2 separate regions of the Homo sapiens genome follow, and region 1 is linked to region 2. The links are contacts of gene promoters, found by promoter capture Hi-C in human tissues and cell types (Jung and others, 2019). All regions are on one chromosome and are shown on one strand. The core of a region is centred on a gene start or on the middle of the fragment in contact, and the rest is flanking DNA. Distances in the headings are between cores, read along the strand shown.

Region 1 (5,697 bases), core at 128-2,627, 43 kb before region 2:
TGGAATTTCCTGAGTGACAGGAGTGTTTATGGTATTCATGGTAGACCTTGTTTATACTAGTGAGGTAACTCATGGTGGACTCTACATGTTTTATACTAATGAGATGACTCGGGACAGGTACTGGCAACACCAGAAAGACCAACCATGTGATGAGAGGATTGGGACTTTGATATTAGCTCAATATCTGGGGAGCATAAAGGGGTCAGAGATTTGGTTTAATCACATGGACAGTGATTCAATCAATCTTGCCTATGTGATGATACTCCAACAAAAACTCTGGACAAACCTCAGGTGAGTCCCCTGGTTAGCAAGTCTCTATGCACTGTCATACATCAATATGCTGGAAGGGTATCCTGACTCCATGGGGAACAAAATGGAAGCTTTGCTTTTCAGACCCTTCGAAACCTCATTCTATGCCTCATTCCCTTTGGCTAATTATATTTTTGTATCCTTTTACTATAATAAAGCTATAATCATAAGTATAGCACTTTCCTGAGTTGTGTGAGCTGTTCTAGTAAATAATTAAGCCTGAGGGGTTCGGGGGAATCCAGTAATTGTAGCCAGCTGGTCAGAGTACGAGTGTCCTGGGGACCTCTGAATTTACAGCTATTATATAAGGTAAGGGCAATCTTGTGCCCTCAATCTATGAAATTTGGCTACTATGGTTAATTGGCACCAGCAGTCACTGAAGTCTCTGTTTTCAAATGGCCCTTCCTTCACTTATTTACACAAAGCAGTGGTTCTCAAAGTGTGGTCCCTGGACCAATAGCATCAGTATTTCCTAGAAACCTGTTAGAAGTAAAACTTATCTGGTTCCACCTCAGACCTACTAAATCAGAAACTCCAGAGGTGGGACAGGAAATCTGTTTTATTAAGCACTCTAAGTGATTCTGATAAATATTGTATTTAAGAACCATTGAAATAAAGAAACTTTACTCAACCTTCTGATGGGAGTTGAGGCCCGCCTGGAGTGGCCACTACCAAGATGCTGGCTGCAGCAGGGGAGGCGTGGCTAAGGCTGCATGTTCCGCAGAGCTGTTGGGGGCTAGGAACTGGGTGCAGCTGCAGCCACCCAGCTGTGGCTTTGGACCCGGGCATCCCTGTGCCTTCGGGGGGCCTGAAAACCCCCACCCCCACTCCTGCAGGCTCAGAAGTGCTTGCTTCTGCTCTCTGGCCTCACCCATCTCCTGGCACATGGTTCAGTGCAGAGCAAAGTTGTGGTCGAACCTGGGCACTGTCATGACCTGGCTGGGTGTGTACATGCTTGGGGCAGCACAGACATGCCAGCCCCCTGCTGCCTTGTCCCCCTCTGGACTTTGGGTGCCACTGATCCTGGGAAGGAGGTGGGGGATGGTGAGGGCAGCTCAGTGCATGCCTGCAGGTACCCCTCAGCATGAACAGCCTAGTGCCATAGATGGCATGTTGATGGCAAAAGGCAGATGGGCTCCTGGGCAGAAAGGGGTGGGTCCCTGGTGAAACCCCACCTTTAAGCCAGAAACAGCTTGAAGCCTGGGGCCTGGGCTGCCATTTCCAGATTAAGTCCTTGGCCTAGGGTGAGAACTTATAGTGCTCTTTCTGGGCCTGTCCATAGCTGCCCATGGACCAGTAAGCACACATTTACTCCCTCTGACCCCATAAAAACCCAGACTCAACCAAACTCAGACAGACATCAGGACTACCAGCTGCAGGAAGAAGCTACCCATTTCAGGTCTCCTGAGAGCTGTTCCGTTGCTCAGTGACACCCCTCTCCACCTTGCTTACCCTCTAGTTGTCCATGTACCTCATTCTTCCTGGATGTGGGACGACAACCCAGGATCTGCCAGATGGTGGGACTGAAAGACCTGTAATGCAAACAGCTGAAACATGCCCCCCACTCACCACATTGCTGATGATGAGGAGAAAAGAGCTGCAGCCCTTAAACGAGCCCAGACCTAGGAGCTCCCTGAGCCAGGGCTGTGATACTGTCTTTGGGGCTCTGTGATTCCTGGTGTCTGCAAGCTTCTGGGAGCCACCATGTTCCCCAGTACCCACAGTGGAAGCTGTTTGTGGTACACCTGGTCCATCCACAGCCTCGCATGGTGCTGGCACCTGTGGCAGCACCTGGAGCTGCCTACCACACTGCAGCCAGCAAATGCCTGCTCGTGTACAGTGGCTGGACCCCACACATGCCCACACACCCCTCGCTGCTCTCTGTGCCTGTCTCACCCTTGGCAGGTGTGGGATCCAGGCCGGTAGCATGAGCTGAGCATAGCCTGTCAGGCCAAGTGGGCTGAAAGAGCCCAGCAGGCCTGAGCAAAACTTGGGCAAAGATGCCACCAGCCACAGAGGTTTCTAGCTGGAAAAATGACACCCCAAGGATCCCATGACACTTCCATGACAATCACATTTCCCTTCCTGCAATGAAAACTTCCCAGACTTACAAACCTGGCATCCCCGCATGAGCTCCCTGATCTAATAGATGTATTCTAATACAGCAGTTCCCAAATTTTGTTTCCAAGACAATCTTAAACTTCTGGAAAATCCCAAAGAGCCTTTGTTTACATGGACTATATTTACTGTATCAGAAATTAAAACTGAGATAATTGTAAAATATTTATTTTAAAATCTATTTAAAATAACAACAATGAACTGAATATGTGTTGGTATAAATAATTTTCTGTGTGTAAAAAAAAAAAAGTCGCTGTTTTTCAAAACAAGTGAGAAAAATGGCATTGGTTTTTATTTTTGCAAATCTCTTTAATGTCAGCCTTAATAGAAGACAGTTGGATTCTCATACCAGTTTCTGGATTTAAAGTGTTGAAATATGTTGTTCTAGTTGAATTATATTAATAAAAATTATCTCACATTGATATGTAGTTGAAAAAGTGAGAAATATGTTAATAACCTTTGTAGATTATTGTGAATATTATTTTATTACTATTACAAAAATTGACAAGGGTAGTTTTTTTTAAAGGTTAGCTGCAATGTGAAATTTGAAATTATATCAATGAAATCTTTGCACTCTGCTACATTAAAATCTTTTCGTCTCTCTTGCACTTTGAACACATATTTTACAATGCATTGTTTTGTAACATCATGCTTCGTCATTTAGAAAATATTCATTCATTGAGTTAAATGAATGTCCTTGATGTTGACACATTTTATTAGACAATATCAAAATCACAGTTGTTAATGTTACCATTGTTCTCAGAAAAAACTTTAAGTGTTGGGAAGCCCTCAAGTAAACGGTGGCAGAAACAAATTTCCAAAATTCTAATTTTTTGCTTGAAAGCTCAGATTTTATCTTTGGCAACAAACCCTGAGTTTTCTTTGAAATGACAGACTCACTTCCTTCATATCCAAGAAACTGCCTGCCAAATACCCAAATCTAAAACACCAGTCTGCCAGTCATTCTTTCAAGTAAAAATGGCTTTTCATGGGAAAAAAAAAAAGACAGCTTGTTTAGCTCCTGACTCAATCACACATGTGCTTTTCCTTGAGACAACTATCATACTTTGGTATGAAGCAGAAGTGGTTTATTCATACTTTCCATTTAATCACAGAGAACATTTAAAAAATATGTACTCAAGGGTTAAGATTTTTTTTAGAAGCAGGGTCTCCTGACTTCTTAATGATTGCCATTCTAACTGGTGTGAGATGGTATCTCATTGTGGTTTTGATTTGCATTTCTCTGATGGCCACTGATGATGAGCATTTTTTCATGTGTTTTTTGGCTGCATAAATGTCTTCTTTTGGGAAGTGTCTGTTCATGTCCTTCGCCCACTTTTTGATGGGGTTGTTTGTTTTTTTCTTGTAAATTTGTTTGAGTTCATTGTGGATTCTGGATATTAGCCCTTTTTCAGATAAGTAGGTTGCGAAAATTTTCTCCCGTTTTGTAGGTTGCCTGTTCACTCTGATGGTAGTTTCTTTTGCTGTGCAGAAGCTCTTTAGTTTAATTAGATCCCATTTGTCAATTTTGGCTTTTGTTGCCATTGCTTTTGGTGTTTTAGACATGAAGTCCTTGCCCATGCCTATGTCCTGAATGGTAATGCCTAGGTTTTCTTCTAGGGTTTTTATGCTTTTAGGTCTAACATTTAAGTCTTTAATCCATCTTGAATTGATTTTTGTATAAGGTGTAAGGAAGGGATCCAGTTTCAGCTTTCTACATATGGCTAGCCAGTTTTCCCAGCACCATTTATTAAATAGGGAATCCTTTCCCCATTGCTTGTTTTTAAGAGGATGTGGAGAAATAGGAACACTTTTACACTGTTGGTGGGACTCTAAACTAGTTCAACCATTGTGGAAGTCAGTGTGGCGATTCCTCAGGGATCTAGAACTAGAAATACCATTTGACCCAGCCATCCCATTACTGGGTATATACCCAAAGGACTATAAATCATGCTGCTATAAAGACACATGCACACGTATGTTTATTGCGGCATTATTCACAATAGCAAAGACTTGGAACCCACCCAAATGTCCAACAATGATAGACTGGATTAAGAAAATGTGGCACATATACACCATGGAATACTATGCAGCCATAAAAAATGATGAGTTCATGTCCTTTGTAGGGACATGGATGAAATTAGAAATCATCATTCTCAGTAAACTATTGCAAGAACAAAAAACCAAACACTGCATATTCTTACTCATAGGTGGGAATTGAACAATGAGAACACATGGACACAGGAAGGGGAACATCACACTCTGGGGACTGCTGTGGGGTGGGGGGAGGGGGGAGGGATAGCATTGGGAGATATACCTAATGCTAGATGACGAGTTAGTGGGTGCAGTGCACCAGCATGGCACATGTATACATATGTAACTAACTTGCACATTGTGCACATGTACCCTAAAACTTAAAGTATAATAATAATAAATAAATAAATTAAAAAAAAAAAAAAGAAGCAGGATCTCACTTTATTGCCCAGGCTGGAATGCAGTAGCACAATCATAGTTCACTGTAACTTAGAACTCCTGGGCTCAAACAAAACTCCCACCTTAGCCTCCTGAGTAGCTGAGAGTATAGGTGTGGTGCGGGCCACTATGGCTGGCTAATTTTTAAAATTTTTGTAGAGACAGGATCTCACTATATTGCCCAGGCTAGACTTAAACTACTGGCATTAAACAATCCTCTTGTCTTAGCCTCCCAAAGCACTGGGATTACAGGTCAGGATTTAATAAAACTAGTTATTTTTACATTTTATTTTATTTTAAGTTCTGGGGTATGTGTGCAGGATGTGCAGGTTTATTACATAGGTATCCAGGACATTCTTAAGAGAAATTTCTCTCTCTTTCTCTCTCTTTCTTTCTCTCTCTTTCTTTCTCTCTCTCTCTCTCTGTATCTCTCTCTCTCTCTCTCTCCTTTCTCCTCCAAGTGTGTGGCAGTAAGAATACAATAATCAAAGGTACAGAACAATTTGGTGTCACAGATGATATTCCTGCTAAAGCACCAGCAGTTTCACACACCATGGCTTCTGAATCATCTATGCAAATGTCAACATAGTGAAAAGAAGCAGATAACATCTCAGTGTAATTATGAACAGTATTTTGACCTCATGGTGCCTCTGAAAGGGTTTCAGGGACCCCCAAGGCTCTGTGGACTCACTTTGAGAACCACTGATCAAATAGAAACCCCTATTGCTTAGTTGTGCTTACACTAGAATAGAGCTTTTTGGGGTCAGGGATTTTATCTTTTCATCATTTTATTTAAAA
Region 2 (4,943 bases), core at 2,286-4,785:
TTGTTACAATGCAGATTGTGATTCAGTTTACTGGGGTGGGGCCTGAGATTCTGCATTAGAACCAGCTCCCATGAGATGTCTAAGCTGGAATCAGTGGACTGCACTTTGAATAGCAAGGCATTAGCCCTCACCATAATCGTTCACCTTCCTGAAATTCTCTACTCCTTTGGGTTTTGCTACACCATTCTCTCCTGGCTTCCCTCCTCGCTAACTGTTCCTCCTAAGCATCTTTTCTTCATTCTGCTTTCTGCTTGTTCTTTAAAGGTAAGTAAATTCCCTGAGTTTCATTCTCAACTTATTTCTCCTCTTCCTAGAGTGATGATTCTCAAACTTTAGTGTACAAAGGAAGTCAGCTGAAAAATGTTATCAAAATGGAGCTCCCTAAGCTTCATTCCAAAGGTTCTGATTCAGTAGGTATGGGGTGGAGTCTCTTAGTCAGCATTTTTAATTCTGCTAAAGATGTTTTTCTTTTTTAAAAAATAAATGTATATAAATATGGCATACGTAACCTCATATTGTCTTAATTAAACACGATGTATGTCATAACCTCATATTATCTTAAACACAATATTTATATATATTTAATTAGTAAAAGTTTGCTATAGTGAAGCAAACTAACATATCCATCATTTCATATAGCTATACTTTTTTGTTGTTTTTGTGGTAAGAGTAGCTAACATCTACTTATTTTACATGAAACCCATAGTACAATTTCATTACCTGTAGTCCTCATGTTGTACATTAGATCTCTAGACTTGTTCATCATATATATATATATATACACACATATACACACACACATACATATATATATATATATATATGCTTCTTTGTATCCTCTGACCTACATCTTCCCATACCCCCAGTCCCTGCCTCTGGTAATCACTGTTTTGTTCTCTATCTCTATATATTTGATTTTTTTTTTTACAAAGATTCTGCATATAAGTGAGACCAGGCAATATTTCTGTGTCTGGATTATAGCACATAGCATAATGTCCTCCAGGCTCATCTACATAGTGGCAAAAAGCAAGATCTATTTTTTAGGACTGAATAATATTCCATTGTGTATTTGTACCACATTTTTATCCCCTTGTCCATCAATGAATGCTTAAGTTGTTTCCATATGTTGGCTATTGTGAATAATGCTGCAATGAACATGGTAATACAGATATCTTTACAAAGTTGTGATTCCACTTCTGAGTATATGCCCAGAAGAGAGATTGCTAGATCATATGGTAGTTCTATTTTTAATTTTTTTACAATCATCCATACTGTTTTTCATAATGCTGTAGCAGTTGACATTCCCACCAACAGTGTACAAGAGTACTCTTTTCTCTACACTCTCTCCAACATTTATCTGCAGACATTTTGATAACAGCCGTCCTAATAAATATGAGGTGGTATTTCTTAGTAATTTTGATTTACATTGCCCTGAGGATTGGTGATGCTGAGCATATTTTCATAAACCTGTTGTCCATTTTTATGTCTTCTTTGGAGAAATGTCTATTTGGGCCTTTTGTCCATTTTGTATTGGGTTTGTTTTTCCACTGTTAAGTTTTATGAGTTCTTTATAAAATTTTTATATTAAACCCTTAGGGTGCTCATTTATTTTCATTACTTTAACCGAACCCTAGATGCTGGGGGTTCCAAATTGAACCTACATCCCAGCCTTATTTATGAGTTTAACTGACTATTTAATATTTTAATCTGGATATCCAAAAAGTTCAAAACGTTCAAATTAATTTTGTTATTTTGTTCCCAAATCTCTAAATCTCTCTTTTTTTTTTTTTTCTGAGACAATGGCATCATCATCTAAACAGAAGAAATCTGGTTAGAATTTGTGCCCTGCAAATACTTGCCTACAAGTCTCTGTCTACAATCACACTTGACATATAAATCACCTGGGAGAGCTTGCTAAAAATGCTGAGTCAGAAACTCCTCAAATGCTTATTCATTAAATCTGGAGGAGGCCCATGAACCTGCATTTTTAATGAATCTTCCCCTAGTGGTTCTGATGAAGATGGCCCCGAACAACTATTTCTAAAAATGCTGTCTGTCCTAGGGATTCCTCCAGTTATTCCTAGCAATAGGACCACAAAGGCTTTGAAAGCATTTTTCACAACAGAGGACTTGGCGGTGGGAATAAGCGATAGTTTAGTCTTCCCCATAATCTTTAGCAGAGCCTCCCAAAGCTACTCTAAATAACAGTGCAAACTAAGCAAAATCAGTGCACTCCTATCTAAAGTTAGTATCAGTTTAAGTCACCAGCCATTCCTTTCCTAACAATATTGACACCCCAAGCCCTTCCTGTACAGATATTCCTGGACTAATGATTTGCCACCATGCCAGTAACTCTTAAAGAATGCTTGCTTGCCCTTCCCTCTAATTTTACTCCCTTTGGCCTTATTCCCATGAGGACACATTACTGATTTAAGAAATTGAAGAGCAAGGCTTATAAATACCTCAAGTAGCCAGTACATACCTCTATAGTGGTGATATCTACTGTATATGTCTTTCTAAGGAAATTTTTCAGACCACCTCCACTAGAGGAAGCTCAATTGAGAGAATTTTTATCATAAAGATCCCTGGTTTGTATTACAGTATTTTAAAAATTAAACTGTTTGAAACTGGATGAATTTGCTTTATTGCCTTAAAAAATCCTAATTTGGTGTTTTCTTTAACTGTCCTTTAATGCATGTTATGCCTCTAGGTTCAGAAGTGAAATGATTTTTGTTTAAGTTTATTAGAATAAAATTGGAGTTCAGCTGGTCACTTTGAGGCATGGCAACCAAGTGACTGATCTCTTTTTAATCTTTAATAAGTTCCATTATTCACAAATTGATGGCATTTAAGGAATCTGAAGTAATGCAAACCACATAACTGTGAAATATTTGAATATTCTAATGCTCAGAATGAAATATTTTTCATACTGATTAGGCCTCGAAACTGCGTTTGAATGAAAACATTGTCAAACAGAGGTTGTAGTGCAAATAATATAAAACATAAGTATAAAGGGTGTTGATTCATTTTAATTCTATCTCTTTGCAAACTGAATATGCAAAATGTCATCTTGATGTTCAGTCTCCCTCCTCTGTCTGCATATCAAAATGTATAATGAGGAGGTACACTTTTTTCACTGAGAAAAATCAGTGGGAACTAAAAAACAGGCAATTTACCTAGGTTTTACTATGAGCATTTTGCTTTGATTTCAGGTAGGTGAGGCATTGATTAACTTTATTTTTCTAAATCCAAAGCAAGACTTTTTACTTCAGCTGAGGTCATCTGCAGACATTTTCCATAGTTGGGAGCTATTTTTTGAAATATCTTGCATCTCTGCTTTTCTCTCCATATTTCTTTTCTCCACTCGCTTCCTCTCTCCCAGCTGCAGGGATTCGTCCTCTAAAAGAGTGGAGGTGGGAGGGAACAAGAAATGGAAGCAAAGCAGGGAGCATGAGCTAGAGAATGCCAGGATCTGGCTTTTGTTATTGGTTGGCTGCCGCCTGATGGATAGACGAGGGAGGAGTGTACTCTCTTCAGTGTGTTCTGACGGAGCCGAAGTACAGAAACCATATTTACAGGTAAGAGCGAAAAATAAAAAAAAAGAAAAGAGAATTCTTTTTTTCTTTAAAAGAGAATGCTTCTTAATTTTTACGGAAACAATTTTATAGTAGGAAAATTATTCTGAGGACATTTTCTGAAAGTGTGTCCCTTTTATTACTTGAGGAAGCTTTGCAATGAGCTTGCTGTTCTTTCTCTCTGCAAAATCCTTAGCTGATTAAAAACAAAACAAAACAATCACCAGAGGCATGTCTTATCCTAAATAACTTTCTATGCAAGTGTCACTGAAGCAAAATTAATAGATAAAATGAATCATCATGTGTCTCTTCAAAAATGTTTAATTCAAGCTTGTTACTAGGAATCGCAGGAAGGATGAGAAAACCTCGGTAAATTCCACAGGTCCTGAGAAAATGGAGCCTTCTGTGAATATACAATATAAAATTTCATGTGATGGCTTTTAATATTGACAATACAGTAAAAGGCTTAGGAAAACTATTTTTGCAGGTTGTAGACTCTTTTAGCATTAATTTAGAATGAATGATTTGTGTGCATTTAAGCCCTGTTATTTAACTTACTCCTCTTGATAAATCTCATGTTGTTCAATATTTGCATTATTTTATTCAGCAAACTTTAAGCTTATGTGATAATTAAACAATGGTTTGTCTCTACTTGTTAACTTACATGGAGCCATTTTTATTTTAAAGCACAGAAACCTAATTTTGAAAGATTAAACATTGCTGTAAAAAATAGCATCTTAACAGTCATGTTTCATGGGTAGTTTAATTTATCAGTCAAACACATCTAGATAAGAATTCCATCAGAGCATTTATATTGTTGATAATATCTCTAGGCAATTTTTTTTTAGCAACTTTACTAGGTGCTTGTATCTCCTAATATGGTCCTTTATATTGCCTTAGGGAAAAAAGGGACAAGTTCTAAGTATGTAGAATAAATAACACACTTGCAGTAAAAACATACAAAAAAACTGAACTCCCAGTCACTTAATTCTTTACTTTAATTCATAAATACAGGTCATTTAACGGTGGTAGAACCTCATTAAAATTGAACTTTCAAGAATTATGACTGACTTCAGTACACTGGCCATCGATTAATACCTGTTGATTATAATAATAAAATAAAAGTCTTTCAATGAGGTAAATAATTTGTTCCTACATATTTTAATACCTTTTTGAATGAATCAAAACTAATAGGAATGACTATATAATTTCTAAATATTTTTTGCTATTGTTTTTCTTTTTGTTTATTGTTTTTCAAATTTTTTTATTTATTGTACTTTTTTTGTTTGAGAGATTTTGTCTTTGAATAAACAGACACAAATATAATAGTTCTTGGAAAATTAAAATGAGTGAGAAAATTGCTGAATA

The links. Contacts are between HindIII fragments. The study calls those that stand out against the background at their distance.
Region 1: a fragment that was not itself captured here is called in contact with the fragment with the promoter of CSRNP3 in region 2 in 1 of the 25 tissues and cell types used here (pancreas).

What each region holds. Positions count from the first base shown.
Region 1 is chr2:165,425,748-165,431,444 of GRCh38, forward strand. No RefSeq gene overlaps it. Among named protein-coding and RNA genes, the nearest start is that of CSRNP3, 41 kb to the right of the region's middle. RefSeq lists an enhancer at 747-1,682. The HindIII fragment of the contact is 5,022 bases long and covers 1-3,888 here.
Region 2 is chr2:165,466,163-165,471,105 of GRCh38, forward strand. CSRNP3 (cysteine and serine rich nuclear protein 3) reads left to right here and starts at 3,536. Exons shown (of 7, transcript NM_001172173.2): 1 at 3,536-3,578. The HindIII fragment of the contact is 6,911 bases long and covers 1-4,943 here.